2 separate regions of the Homo sapiens genome follow, and region 1 is linked to region 2. The links are contacts of gene promoters, found by promoter capture Hi-C in human tissues and cell types (Jung and others, 2019). All regions are on one chromosome and are shown on one strand. Each heading gives the region's core, a stretch centred on a gene start or on the middle of the fragment in contact. The rest is flanking DNA. Distances are from core to core; before and after follow the strand shown.

Evidence for each region. The method cuts DNA at HindIII sites, captures the fragments that hold promoters and counts their contacts. A contact is called where the count stands out against the background at its distance.
Region 1: the fragment with the promoter of FGF22 here is called in contact with the fragment with the promoter of MISP in region 2 in 1 of the 25 tissues and cell types used here (lymphoblastoid cells).

The regions. Positions count from the first base shown.
Region 1 is chr19:633,962-641,188 of GRCh38, reverse strand. FGF22 (fibroblast growth factor 22) reads right to left here and starts at 1,310. Exons shown (of 3, transcript NM_020637.2): 1 at 1,050-1,310. The coding sequence starts at 1,263. LOC105372234 (a long non-coding RNA gene) reads right to left here. Exons shown (of 2, transcript XR_936226.2): 2 at 2,883-7,205. RefSeq lists a silencer at 1,138-1,627 and enhancers at 1,969-2,694, 4,069-4,128. The HindIII fragment of the contact is 14,968 bases long and covers 1-7,227 here.
Region 2 is chr19:747,047-754,198 of GRCh38, reverse strand. MISP (mitotic spindle positioning) reads right to left here and starts at 3,087. Exons shown (of 5, transcript NM_173481.4): 1 at 3,028-3,087. It overlaps PALM (paralemmin), which reads right to left. Exons shown (of 9, transcript NM_002579.3): 9 at 5,870-7,152. The HindIII fragment of the contact is 28,409 bases long and covers 1-7,152 here.

The DNA of each region.
Region 1 (7,227 bases), core at 61-2,560, 110 kb after region 2:
GGGTCCCCCATGCGGAGCACAGCACCCACAAGGTGCCCGATTAGTGACCAGCGAATGCACGAAGGGCAGGAGAGCCCTCAGCTAGCCCTCACCCCCATCACCGTCCAGCTGGGGAAACCGAGGCTTGGAGAGAGGCAGAGACTGTTCCAGGTCAGGCAGCGGAGCCAGGCCTCTGCCCCGGCCCGAGGCCACCCCGCCTGGCCATGCCCGCCATGGATGGACCGGCCCAGCCAGTCCCCTGTCCGCCCTCGTCACGTGCGGCCTAATGAGGGCCTTGGCGCCCAGATGAAAGCGGTGGGAAGGACAGGGGGTGATTACCTGCCCTGATGGTGGTGATTCAGGCGGCAGCCAGCGGGCCCGGGCCCCCTTCCCAGTGCCCCCCGCCCGGCGGGGACACCGACTCCCCTGGCCTCCAGGTACCCACATCCCCTGCTGTGCCCAGCCTCTCCTCTTGCTCCTGACATTCCACAAACACTGAGGGCCTACCTCAGTGTGCTCGGCAGACCCTGGGGACAGAGACGCCCGCTCCGTGACGTCCTGGGCCCTGTGGGGACCCAGCTCCGCCACCCCTGTCAGTGTGACCCTGGGCAGGTCCCATCCCTTCTGTGTGCCTCCTTGTCCTCACCTGCCAGATGGGGTGTCTGGGAAGAAGCAGAGGGGGCCCCGACTCAGGCAGCCCTGACTGGATTCTGTGATGTCAGGAGTCCGGAGGTCAGCCCCCCGCCGCTTCCGCCATGCAGCTGGGCCTGCCCCAGCCCCTCTGGAGCCTCAGTTTCCCACCTGCAGATGGGTGGCCCCACCCACAGGGTTGTACCACACGGACGCTTCTCTGCCCCTGAGCCGGGTCCGCCGCTGCAGCCTTCGCTTTAACAGTGCAACCCTCCCACCAGGCAGGCTGCACCCATCTCACAGACCACGGAAACTGAGGCCGAGGCTGCACAGAGGAGCCTCCGGGACTCCCCCGCGGGCGCAGGTCACCGTGAAGACGGCGGCCGCGTTGCCGTCACCCGCCGCCTCCCCACCCCAGGCCCCCGCCGCCCCGCACTCACTGTCCTGGCCGTGGCGCCAGCGGGTGCCCTGCACGCGGCCGCCGGGATCCACGCGCAGGAAGAAGTGAGTGGAGGAGAAGAGGCGCCGCCAGCGCACGTCGCCCTCCAGGTGCGGGTAGCTGCGCGGTCCCCGCGACGCGCTCGGGGTTCCCGCGGCGTCCGGCGCCCGCGCCAGCAGCAGCCAGGCCAGGCCCAGCCACAGGCGGCGGCGCATGACCCGGCACCCGGTTCGCTGCGCGCTCGTCGCTCCCGGGCGTCCGCGGCTCTGCCTTCGCGCGGCGGGGCCAATGGGGCGCCTCGGGGGCGGGGCCGGGTTCGCTGGGGCGGGGACGCCGGCCAATGGGGTGCCTCGGGGCGGGGGCGGGGTCCACTTGGGCGGGACCAGGCTAGGGCGCCGGCCAATGGGACGTCTCGGGGGCGGGGGCCAGGTGCACAGGGGCGCGGCCGTGCGGGACTCCGCGCTCGGCCTCCGCGCGTTTGTTGTTTGTCTCGCGGGGCGTGTCCGTGAGTCAGCCGAGTCCCCGGGCGGGCTAGGACCTCGGGTTGCGGGGGCGGGAGTGTGAGACGCGGGCCGCAGAGACCTGGAGGGAGACAGAGACCCGGAGGGAGACAGAGACAGAAAGACGGCGGCAGTCAAGAGACACAAGGAAGATGACCGGGAGAGACGAGAGAGACACAGAGACAGAGAGGGGCAGAGGCGGAGATGCTTGGGGACAGAGATGGACACGGGAGGTCCTGCCGCGTGCGTCAGCCGTGGGACCAGCCAGGCTCCGGGGCATGCCCTCGTGGGACTTCTCTCCCCGCAAATTGTAGTTTCCCGAAAGCCAGGCCCACAAGGGTGTGGGAATGCGCGGGTGGGTGGGCAGGTGACGACTGGGGACGTGTGTTTGGGCAGGTAGGTGGGCAGGAGGGAGGATAGCCACGTAGACCTGTCGGTGGCCGGCTGGCGGGGCACGTCGGAGGCGGCAGGAATGGGGCGGCCCCATTCGCACCCACACTTGCTCCTCCCTTAGAGCCATACCCCAGGCCCCACGGGGAACCACCCAGCAAGGCGGCTGGCCCCCACCCTTCCTCTGCCTGCCCCATGCGCTGGGCCCCAAAAGGTGAGCACAGTGACCCTCACAGACTCACAGCCAAGTGGAGGCATTGACAACTGGGGAAACCGAGGCCTGAGAGGGGCGGCGACCTCCGCTGTGGGGACACAGCTCCCAGCAGCCCAGTCCTGGCCCTGCGGCCACAGCCCCAGGTGGCACCCACCTTTAAATAGCACCAGGCTGAAGACATGGCGACCAGCCTGTCCTGCCGGGGAGCCCTCTGGAGGGATAACCGGTCTGGCTGGACGCTGGGATGCCTTCTTGGTGGCTCAGGCATCTCCTGACCCTCTCTTCCTGGCTTAGGCGGGTCACACAGAGGGTGTGGCAGGTGCCACAGTCTCAGGGACAGGGGTCCCCATGGCTGAGGTCCAGCCTGGCCTGGCTTCCCACACTAGAGCCCTGTGGCCAACACCCCAAGCTTCGGTTCCGCCTCTGTAAAATGGGCCAGTAAAGAGACGTCTGGAGGAAGACAATGAGACCCTCCACGGAGCACGCTGGGCAGAGGGCGCGGCACCAGACACTGAAGAAATGTCCACCGCCTTCTCGCCAGCAGGAGCCCAGGTCTTCCCTTCTTAGAGTGTCCGCCCCCCACCGCGGAAGGGTGATCTGAGGGCCTTGTGAGAAATGATGGGGATGGGACCCACAGCGGTGAGACTGGCCCCACCCCAGGCGTCTGAGTTTCTTTAATGACACCTCGGAAACATCACTCATATACCACACAATTCACCCACTTACACTGTACAGTTCAGTGATTTTATTTTATTATTATTTCTTTGAGACGGAGTCTGGCTCTGTCACCCAGACTGGAGTGCAGTGGTGCGATCTCGGCTCACTGCAAACTCTGCCTCCCTGGTTCAAGCGATTCTCCTGCCTCAGCCTCCTGAGTAGCTGGGATTACAGGCACCTGCCACCACACCCAGCTAATTTTTGTATTTTTAGTAGAGACAGAGTTTTACCATGTTGGCCAGGCTGGTCTCAAACTCCTGACCTCGTGATCTACCTGCTTCTGCCTCCCAAAGTGCTGGGATTACAGGCATGAGCCACTGCACCCAGCCAGTTCAGTGATTTTAGTACCTCGTAGAGTTGTGCAACCACCACGACTGTCTAGTTCCAGAAGATTCCATCACCGCAAGAAGAAGCCCCATCAGCTGTCACTCATCCCCTCTGCCAGCCCCCGGCACCCACACATCCCCTTCCTGCCTCTGTGGATGGGCCTGTTGTGGACATTTCATATAAAGGGGATCACACACTGTGTGTCCTTCTGTGTCTGGCGTCTTTCACTGAGCATGACATCCTCAAGGTGCATCCGCGCTGTGGCTGGGGCAGAGCCTTGCTCCTTTTCACGCCTGTAATCCCAGCTACTCAGGAGGCTGAGGCAGGAGAATCTATACAACCCAGGAGGCGGAGGTTGCAATGAGCTGAGATCATGCCACTGCCCTCCAGCCTGGGCGACAGAGCGAGACTCTGTCTCAAACAAAAACAACAACAACAAACACCGATCAGGGCTGGGCTGGCGCACGCTTTGTATTGAGTGGTGTCTTCCTCTTTGTAGCCTCTGTGGTTGGCCCAAAGGTAAGTCCCCACCCTGATCCCTAGAATGTGACATTTGCCTTATTTGGAAAAAGAGTCTCAATATATTGACACCATGAAGATCTGAACGATATGGAGAAGATTGTCCTGGGGCATCCTAAACGCGGTCACAATACGGAGACAGGAGGAGATTTCACACAGGCAGACGAGGAGGCTGCAGTGCGACCACAGAGACCGAGACGGGAGTGATGTGGCCGCAGGCCAAGCACACCTGGAGCCTTCAAAAGCTGGGAGAGGCAGGAAGGAGCCCCAGGGCCTCTGGAGGGAGCGAGGCCTCCACACACCTTGACTTCAGCCCCGCAGTCCTGATTTTGGACTTTTCATTTCCAGAAATGTAAGAAAATGAACGTTGCTTTAAGGCACCGAGTTTGTGGTAATTTGTCACAGGGGCTCCAGGGACCTGGGCCATCCCCTTCCATCTAGCGATTCTCGACTCTGTGGGGTTTGCTTGGTTGGGTTTTGTTTTGTTTTGTTTTTAGACAGAGTCTCGCTCTGTCGCCCAGGCCGGAGGGCAGTGGTGTGATCTCGGCTCCCTGCAACCTCCGCCTCCCGGGTTCAAGTGATTCTTCTGCCTCAGCCTCCTGAATAGCTGGGATTACAGGCACCCACCATGCCCGGCTAATTTTTGTTATTTTTATTGGAGATGAGGGTTTCACCATGTTAGCCAGGCTGGTCTCCAGCTCCCGGCCTCAGGGGATCCGCCCGCCTCGGCCTCCCGTAGTGCTGGGATGACAGGCGGGAGCCACCACGCCCGGCCAGATATATGGTTTCCCACTTTTGATGGTGATATTAAGTCTCTTCGTAAAACTTAAGCAAGAAAAATAATTAATGTTGTATTTATTAATTTATTTTTGAGACGGAGTCTCGCTCTGTCGTTCAGGCTGGAGTGCAGCGGCGAGATCTCAGCTCACTGCAACCTCAGTCTCTTGGATTCAAGCATTTCTCTTACCTCAGCCTCCCAAGTAGCTGGGATTACAGGCACCACCCACTACCACGTCCGGCTAATTTTTGAATTTTTAGTGGAGACAGGGTTTCACCACGTTGGCCAGGCCAGTCTCGAACTCCTGACCTCAGGGGATCTGCCTGCCTCAGCCTCCCAAAGTGCTGGAATTACAGGCATGAGCCACCATGACCAGCCAATATTGCATTTACTTAATACAGGAGTGGTGGAGACAGATGTAGTTAAAATAAATGGTGGGGCTGGGGGGTGGTGGCGGCTACAGAGTTGCGAGGCTGGAATTTGGGCAATGAGCTGTTTCAGAAACTGCTGTCTTATTCCAAAACCCAGATTATGTTCTTTTTTTTTTGAGACAGGGTCTCGCTCTGTCGCCCAGGCTGGAGTGCAGTGGCTCAATCACAGCTCACTGCAGCCTCTGCCTCCTGGCTCAAGCAATTCTACATCTTCCCACCTCAGCCTCCCAAGTAGATGGGGCCACAGGCAGGCACCATCACAGCCAACAAAATTTTTTTGTATTATTTGTAGTGATGGGGTTTGGCTACATTGCCCAAGGCTGGAGTGCAGTGGTGCGATCTTGGCTCACTGTAACCTCCACCTCTCAGGTTCAAGTGATTTTCCTCCCTTGGCCTCCTGAGTAGCTGGGATTACAGGCACAGGCCACCATGCCCGGCTAATTTTCGTATTTTTAGTAGAGACGGGGTTTCACCATGTTGGCCAGGCTGGTCTCAAACTCCTGACCTCACGTGATCCGCCCGCCTCGGCCTCCCAAAGTGCTGGGATCTCATCAAATAAAAGAAAAGACTAACGCATAAGGAATGGTGAAATAGTTCAGAAGTCGGTTTCCACCCAAGTTTCTGGCTCTGCCAGCCTGCAGGGGTGCAGGGGGTGTCTGTAGGTCTTGGCACACCAGGCCTGGCTGATTCAGGGCCAGGCAGGTGACCCCAGTAGTGGGTGAGGTCTGAGGTCACAGCCCGCTGGGGCACCCTGAGGTGGACTGAGGCAGGTGAGGGAGGGTGCTGCCGTCTGTCGAAAACATTCCCAGCCGGTGGCATCAGTGCGCTCACGCAGGCGTCGGCAGCAGCGTCTGGAATGTGCTGTAAGGAGGCTGCCAGGCCCTTCCAGAGTGAGGTCGAGTCCTCGTTCTGGGCTGATGGGGAAACTGAAGTGCCAGGGTTTGGGGATGGAGGATAGCTTGAGCTGAGGCCCCCGAGCCCCCGTGTGGTCAGGCCCCCTAACTGAGCCCCAGCTACATCTTTGCTCCCTCTCCCCAGCCCCACTCTGCTCAAATTGCTCCTCTGTCCACGCTTGTTCCTGCCTCAGGGCCTTTGCACTTGTTTTGTTTTGAGACAGGGTCCTGTTCTGTCAACCCAGGCTGGAGTACAGTGGCGCCATCTCAGCTCACTGCAGTCTAAACCTCCTGGGCTCAAGCAGTCCTCCTGCCTCAGCCTCCCGAGTATCTGGGACCACAGGTGTGCACCACCATGCCTGGCTAATTTCTTTTTTTCCTTTGGTGGAGACTGGGTCTCAGTATCTCGGTTGCCCAAGGCTTGTCTGGAACTCCTGGGCTCAAGCGATCCTCCCGCCGCAGCCTCCCAAAGTGCTGGGATTACAGGCCTGAGGCACTGAACTGACCTCCCTTTGCACTTTTTTTTTTTTGAGACAGGTTCTCGCTCTGTCACCCAGGCTGGAGTGCAGTGGCGAGATCTTGGCTCACTGCAACCTCCGCCTCCCGGGTTCAAGCGATTCTCCTGCCTCAGCCTCCCGAGTAGCTGGGATTACAGGTGCCCGCCACCACCCCCGGATAATTTTTGTATTTTTACTAGAGACGGGGTTTTGCCATGTTGCCAGGCATGCTTGCGTATTTGCCAAGCTGGTCTCGAACTCTGACCTTAGGTGATCCGCCCGCCTCAGCCTCCCAAAGTGCTGGGATGACAGGCCTGAGCCACCAAACCAGCTCCCCTTTGCAACTGGGATATTAGCCTGGAACACAGTTACCCCCAGATATTCCTATTCTCACCCTTCCCAAGCCTACTGCCCCACAGCAGGCGCTCCCGCCTCTGGCCTGCTGCCCCGGCTGAACGACACAGGTGGGCACACCTTCCAGGTTCCATTCTAAAGCTCCCGCCCTGCTCCTCCTAGGCAGGATCACGCGGAGACCAGGGCAGGCTCTAGGCTCCGAGGTTTATTTCATTCCCTTGACCTCACCCCACTTAGCAGGTGAATCCAAGCCTGCCGCTCCATTCGGCTCCTGCCCCTGAGGGCTTGGGGATTGGAGGGTAAACTGAAGCTGGAGGCTGGGAGTCTCGCGGACTGGGGCTTTCTCTCCTTGCAGCCTCCCTGAGGTCGCACGTGCTGTGTCTTCCAGCAACTTGGTGGCCCTCTCTGAGCCTCAGCTTCCTCCATGATAGACGGCATCCTAATGACTCTTACCCAAAAGTTGTCGTTGGAGCAATGAAGGTTGCGGACAGGAATCTCTAAATTGCAGATGCTGTCCTCGTTATTAGATGAGTATGCCTTGAAAAAAAAAAAAAAAAAG
Region 2 (7,152 bases), core at 1,838-4,337:
GCCACCGCGCCCAGCCAGGACACCCGGCTAATTTTTGTATTGTTAGTAGAGACGGGTTTCACCATGTTGGCCAGGCTGGTCTTGAACTCCTGACTTCAGGTGATCCGCCTGCCTCGGCCTCCCAAAGTGCAGGGATTACAGGCGTGAGCCACCGTGTCCAGCAGACATCATCTTTCATAGTTGAGGAAAGGAAGCCTCACCTGAAGACACAGGGATCTCAAAAGCTTGAGCTCCTGACTCCTAAAAAAAGCACTGTCGGCTGGGCACAGGGGCTCAGGCCTGTAATCCCAGCTACTTGGGAGGCTGAGGTGGGAGAATCACTTGAACCTGTGAGGTGGAGGTTGCGGTGAGCTGAGATTGTGCCATTGCACTCCAGCCTGGGTGACAGAGAAAGACCCTGTCTCAAAAGAAAAACAAACCCCCACAAAGCAGGACTGTCGCTCCCGGGCCACCAAGGCTATTATTTAGATCTGCTGCCTTTACACCAACCAGCAGCATTTTTTTTTGTTTTTAAACAGACAGGGTCGGCCAGGCACAGTGGCTCACACCTGTAATCCCAGCACTTTGGCGGATCACGAGGTCAGGAGATCGAGACCATCCTGGCTAAAATGGTGAAACCCCATCTCTACTAAAAATACAAAAAAAATTAACCGGGTGTGCTGGCGGGCGCCTGTAGTCCCAGCTACTCAGGAGGCTGAGGCAGGAGAATGCTGTGAACCCGGGAGGTGGAGCTTGCAGGGAGCTGAGATCGCACCATTGCACTCCAGCCTGGTGACAGAGCTAGACTCCGCCTCAAAAAAAAAAAAAAAGAAAAAAAGAAAAAAAAAGAAAAACTTAGCCCCTCTCTGAACTGGAAAGTGGCATCAAACAGCATAAAGTGGAGAGACCGTGGGGAGCCGTGTTGAAACTACACGCAATGTGTCATGCAATCTTCCGCGCGTATCAAATGTCAGAAACTAAAATAGGGGAAACATTGAAAACCAGGCGGCATTGGTGAATAAATCCCACACAAACAGCTGAGCTTCCTCCCAAAGCGTGACGCACAGATGGCTCCCCTGACCCGAGGCCTCCTCCTCCGTGGACGCCGCCTGCCCAGCTCACGGAAGGCCTTGCCTTCTCCCACCCGAAACCGTCAGCCCAGGCCTCGCTCTCGCCTGCTGTGGCCACAGGTCAGCACCCTTCCTGCAGCCCAGAGTCTGGTATACAGCAGGCGCCTAATAAATACTGGCTGGGCAAACACCACTCATCCCAGCTGCTCAGACGTGGGGGTCGGGCTCATTGCGGAATGCAGACCGGCTCCACCGTGCCTTCTGGCCCTGAAGGGCTGGGCAGGTCCACGCCCTGCACCCTGGAGCTCCCCGGGGAGGGCGGGTGTAGGAATGTTTGCCCAGTGAGTGGACAGACGTTTACACAGCGGGATTTATAACCCACATCAGACGTCAACTCCGGGAGAAAGGGAGCTGTCCGCCCAGCCTCGAGCAGGTGCCGGGTCTCCCAGTGGGGTCGGGGTTGGGTGGGGATGAAGGCACGCATCCTCCTCTGCTCATTCCTCCCCAGTGATTCACTGAAGCCAGCGGGTGGGGCCTGGGGTCCAGCTCTTGGGTTCAAGGCCACTGGGCCCCCTCCCCTGCTGCCTGTGCCTCAGTGCCCACCCCCGCCCCCCGCTTTTTTTTTTGAGATAGAGTCTCCCTCTGTCGCCCAGGCTGGAGTGCAGTGGCGCGATCTCCATTCACTGCAACCTCTGCCTCCCGGATTCACACCATTCTCCTGCCTCAGCCTCCCAAGTAGCTGGGACTACAGGCGCCCGCCACCACGCCCGGCTAAGTTTTGTATTTTTAGTAGAGATGGGGTTTCACTGTGTCGGCCAAAAAAACCCCTGGATCCACGGCGGCTCTCATGGCCGGCATTCTTGGGCAGCGGCGCTGCCCTCGGGGGAAGAGCCCCAGGACGGAAGATGGCCCCTGCAAGGCCCGGCGGTGGCTAAGGACCTCGGCGTCCTGAGACTCTTCCTGCAACACCTTGGAACCGTTTTCGACTCCGGTTTTCGAGAGAGGGAGCTGGGACCCAGAGAGGAGAACCTGCTCATCTGAGGTCACACAGCGATGACAGAGCAAGTGTCTGAAGCCAGTTTTCAGACTTTGCTCCAAATCACCCCCTCCTACAGGAAGCCCCCTGGGTTGCTCCTCCCAGCCTCACCCTGAACTCTGTTGATACCAGAATGAAACTGGGTTTATGGACCCTGGTGCCACACCTCCTTCCTCATCAGCCAGTTGGCTCTATGTGAGGGGCAAAGGTTCCCTTGTGGGGCCGAGACTCAGACAAGGAGGCCATGCAGAAGGGAGGGCCCCGTTCCTTTTTCCCATCCCTCAGGGTTGCAGTCACCCTTGAGTCATCTCAGCTCCTTGGGCTCCTGGGCGGAGCTCCACCGGCAGACGCTGGGCCGAGTCCCTGCTGGCTGCCCGGGATCCCAGGCTACCACCTCACCCCCACCCGAGGACCCAGGCCAAGTCCCCAGCCCCGGCCTGAGACTCCTTCCGCCTGTACTCAGCCACCCCTCCTCCGTGTCCCCAAACCAGCCCCCAGCCCCACGGGGGTGTTTACTGCCCAGAGCCTCCCAGTCAGGGGCCTGGTGGGACGGATAAGCATCTCTCCAGAAGCCTCTGGAATTCCCAGAACCATGGAGGGGCCCCTCTGGCCTCTGACCATGGGGGTGCCAACCCGGCCCCTCCCTTGGAGGGCTCTGGGATTTGGGGTTCAAAAGCCCCAGCAGAGTTCAGGGACAAGGGCCTCTCTGCTCTCCCAGTGGGTGCCCTTGAGGCCCCAGAGTACCTAGCGGGGGCAGAGGGAAAGGTGCCTCAGGGAGGCTCCGAGGGTGACGGGGTGGGGCAGGGGGCCTCCCTGGATCCCAAGTGCCGCCAGGCAAGCAGACCCCGCCCACAGACACATGACGCTCCCACGCCAAATGTGGATCCAACCGCCCCACACAGGATCCCCGCCCGGCCCGGCCCGGGGCGCCCCCAGCCTCACCTGCCGGCTCCCGGCTCCACAGTCTGCAGCCTCCACTCTGACTCCTCGATGGGCACAGAGGCCTCCCAGCTCCGCCCTGCCCGCCAGGTTGCCAGGGAACAGAGGCCCCACCCAGGGGAGGCAGGTGTGCCCCCTCCCCCCAGCCCCACCTGGGATCAGGAAACAAAGTCCAGAGGAGGAGGAGGGAGAAAGAGGATACCAGGCTGGGCAAGGGCGGGCACCGTGCCCGCTGCCGGCTGCCCCTCCACCCCCAGGGCCTCCAGGTGGCCCCGAGGAGCCAGAACTCAGCCGAAACCTCCCTTGGCTGCCTGGCCCTCCCACCGCCTCTCAGCACCGCTCAGAGAGGGTCAGCAGGTGTCCAGGGCCACACAGCAGCTCAGCGTGCACAGTGGCCTGTGTCTCCTGGGGGGCCGGAGGGGCTGAGTCCCAATCCCGTCCGTGCCTTCTGGCCCAGCCCACCCCTTGGGGCAACTCCCCTAGATGGCCCCCTTCTTGCATAAACCAGGTTTGGCAGACTCGGGGGGGTTTGGTGTGGCCTGGGTTCTGATCCCACCTGACCTCTCTTAGCCCTGTTTTCTCCTCCGGGACGTGGGGGAACATCACGCCCGGGCTCCCTCAGGGCTGCTGGGAGGAATTCCCTAGGCCCCATCCACATAAAAACCCATACGAGGGGGCCGGACTTGGTGGCTCACACCTGTAATCCCAGCACTTTGGGAGGCCGAGGCGGGCGGATCACTTGAGGCCAGGAGTTCGAGACCAGCCTGGCCAACATGGCGAAACCCCGTCTCTACTAAAAATACAAAATTTAGCGGGGTATGGTGGCACGCTATTATAATCCCAGCTACTTGGGAGGCTGAGGCAGAAGAATCACTTGAACCCAGGAGTTGGAGGTTGCAGTGAGCCGAGATCACACCACTGCACTCCAGCCTGGGCGACAAGAGCAAAACTCCAACTCAAAAAAAAAAAAAAAAAAAAAAAAAAAAGAACCGCACGAGGCCGTCAAAAGACCCAGGCCACCCCGAGAGATGGGGACGCAGAGGCCCTCAGGCGCCCATGGTCCTCCTGGATTCTTAGTCAAGGTGCAGAGGCCTTGCTGGGACTGTGGGGAGCCCAGCATCTGTGGGGAAGTCGGGCCACTGGGCCTAGCGCCGTCTATGAGGGCAGGGAACACAGCTGAGGGGGCAGGGACTTCAGTTCCCCAGGCTGGGGCTCTGTCCTGACCTACGCCAGAGGGGCTGCTTGTGGAGCCCCTCTGAACCTCAGTCTCTTCTTCGAGTAAAAAGGCCCCCAGCTACGAATCCAGCAGGGCTGCTCAGGAGGGGGGTGCTTTTTTTGTGTTTTTTTTTTGAGACGGAGTCTCGCTCTTGTCACCCAGGCTGGAGTGCAGTGGCACGATCTCGGCTCACGGCAACCTCCCCTGTTCAAGCAATTCTCCTGCCTCAGCTTCCCTAGTAGCTGGGATTACTGGCATGAGCCACCACGCCCAGCTATTTTTGTATTTTTAGTAGAGACAGGGTTTTGCCACGTTAGCCAGGCTGGTCTCGAACTCCTGACCTCAGGTGATGCCCCCGCCTCAGCCTCCCAAAGTGCTGGGATTACAGGCGCGAGCCACGGCGCCTGGCCAAGATGGGGGTGTTTAAGGACAAATCTGGATAAAGGGCCCCCAAAGGACAGCGTGGCACCTAACGCTGCTGGGTGTGTGAAAGCTCAGGGTGCGCGGCCTCACGGCGCCTCCCACCGCCGCCTCCCGCCACCCCCTTCACGTCCTTTTCTCCCTGGCTTGTAGATAGGGAAACGGAGGTACGGAAAGCTTAAAATCGCGCCTCAGGAATGGCGGGGGTTTAGGCTGGAATTGGAACCTGAGTTCCCTCAGCAGTGCTCTCCACCACACTCACCACCTCATCGGGGAAAACTGAGGCCCCAGCAGGGTGGAGGCTGGATCGCCCATGAGCTGGGGGCACTGTGGAGACGTCCCACGCCCAGGCTGAGGCTGGCCTCCCACTCAGGGCTCCGAAGGCCTATTTTATTTTATTTGAGACAGAGTCTCGCTCTGTCGCCCAGGTTGGAGTGCAGTGGCACGATCTCAGCTCACTGCAGCCTCCGCCTCCCAGGTTCAAGCGATTCTCCTGCCTCAGCCTCCTGAATAGCTAGGATTACAGGCGTGAGCCACCACGCCCGGCTAAGTTTTTGTATTTTTAGTAGAGACAGGGTTTCAGTATGTTGGCCAGGATGGTATCGATCTCTTGACCTTGTGATCCGCCCACCTCGGCCTCCCAAAGTACTAGGATTGCAGGTGTGAAACACCGTGCCCGGCCACGAAGGCTTATTTTACAGATGGGAAAACTGAGGCCCAGAGGAGGCAGCGACTTCTCCAAGACTACAGCGTGAGAGAGTGGGGCTGGCGGGGCAGCACCTTCCCGTGAGCATGACACTGGTCTCTACAGACACCTCCTCCCCAGGCCTCCTGTGTATTTCCCAGGGGCCGGCTTCTCTACAGAGCTTGTGGGTGTCCAGGGGACCCTCTGTCATCACCCAGGGGCTGTGAGCCCAGCAAAGGGAGGAACAAAGGACAGGACGGGGCGGCCGCAGAACCCGAGGGCCCCCCGGGAAGCCAGTCCTGCCCCCCCACAGCAGCCCCTTACAGCCAGGCCTTACCTGCACAGTGGGGATTCCAGCGCCTCCCACCACCCCAAGGCGCTCAGGGTGAGCGGGTGCAGGCAGGTGAAGCCAGCACACCGCAACCCTGCTCAGCCTCCCTTTAATGGCTCAAAGGCCGGCAGGCCCCACCCCCTGGCCTGGCCACGCCTTCCTCGCCAGGTTGAAAGGCAAGAACTCCAGGAACTGGGGCTGTTCACGCTGTTTATTTGCTTCTCTGGGAAAATCAAGAACATCGGGGGCCTCGTCACACACCAGAAGCAGAGGGGGTTATAGCAAGGGCACTTCAGCGAAGGCTCGCGGCTCGAGGGACTCAGGCAGACTCCAGGGAGGAGGAGGGGGTTCCACGGCTGACGCCCAGGTCACCCCCGAGAGGGCCTCTCCTCCCAGCCACCCAGGGGCAGAGCGGAGGCAGGGACCCAGGCTCCCATCCGAGGTGGCCCCTGTACCTGCCCTGCCGAGGCTGCAGGTGGTGACTGGACCAGGAGGTGGCCTGAGCACTGGGCACCAGGCTGGAGGTCCCTAGGGCAGGGACCAAGTTGGGGCCTGGTTGTCCAAAGCCAACGTGTGAGACGGTGTCTGTGAGAATGTGCACGAATGTGCCTCTGGGGACGAGTGTAGCTGCCCCCAGGAGGGAAGCCCCTTGCCACTTCCAATGAGAGGGGGCTGGGGGCAGGCTCACATTGGTCTGGGTGGCAAATGAGGGTCTCCTGCTCCAACCCAAGAGGCTTCCTGTCCCAGGCTGTGTCCCTCCCTCCACTGCCCGGACGTGCTCCAAGCCCAGTAGAGCTGGCAGGTGGGGCCTGATCTCGGGGTATGGTTGGGAAGACCCAGGACCCTGGTCCAAGCAGGATGGAGAAGAGGCCGGGGGCGGCCCCTGGGGTCCCCAAATTAGCACCAGGAGGAAGGAGGGCCCAGTGGGGGCGGGAGCTCGGGACAAGGAGTGGCTCACTCGGTCCCTGCCCTGTGCAGGGGGCAGGTCAATGACCCCTGGTTCGCCCCGTCTAGAAGATAGCCCAGGGGTTACCGGCCCCTCCCGGGTGGGGGCATGTCCCCGGGGTTCCCCCTCCCCCAGACTCCATTGTCCACTGGTTGGGCCCACACAGGGCATAGGGGCACAGCAGAGGGGCCTGTCCTCCACCCAAGACCTTTAGCCCCCAAAGAGGCACGGCCTCACCCCAACTGCCTGAGATTGGGGGGCCAGCGCCTTGGCCAGGGAACCCCATAGAGCCTCACTTCCAGGGCCTGAGCAGGCCTCAGTACCCACCCCCGGCTCCCGGGGCCCTCTCTGGCGGGGTGTCCCCTCAGAGAAAGGCACAGGTAGGAGGCCCAGAGGGTGGCAGGCTGGCCTGGGCCGCGTGGAGGCTGCGGGTCCCACCCGCCAGGACCCCGGTGGGCGCGAGCCGCGTCTGTGAAGCTGCCGTGACATGGGGGGTCCTTGTCTCGGGAAAAGCGGGTCTGTCCTGTCTC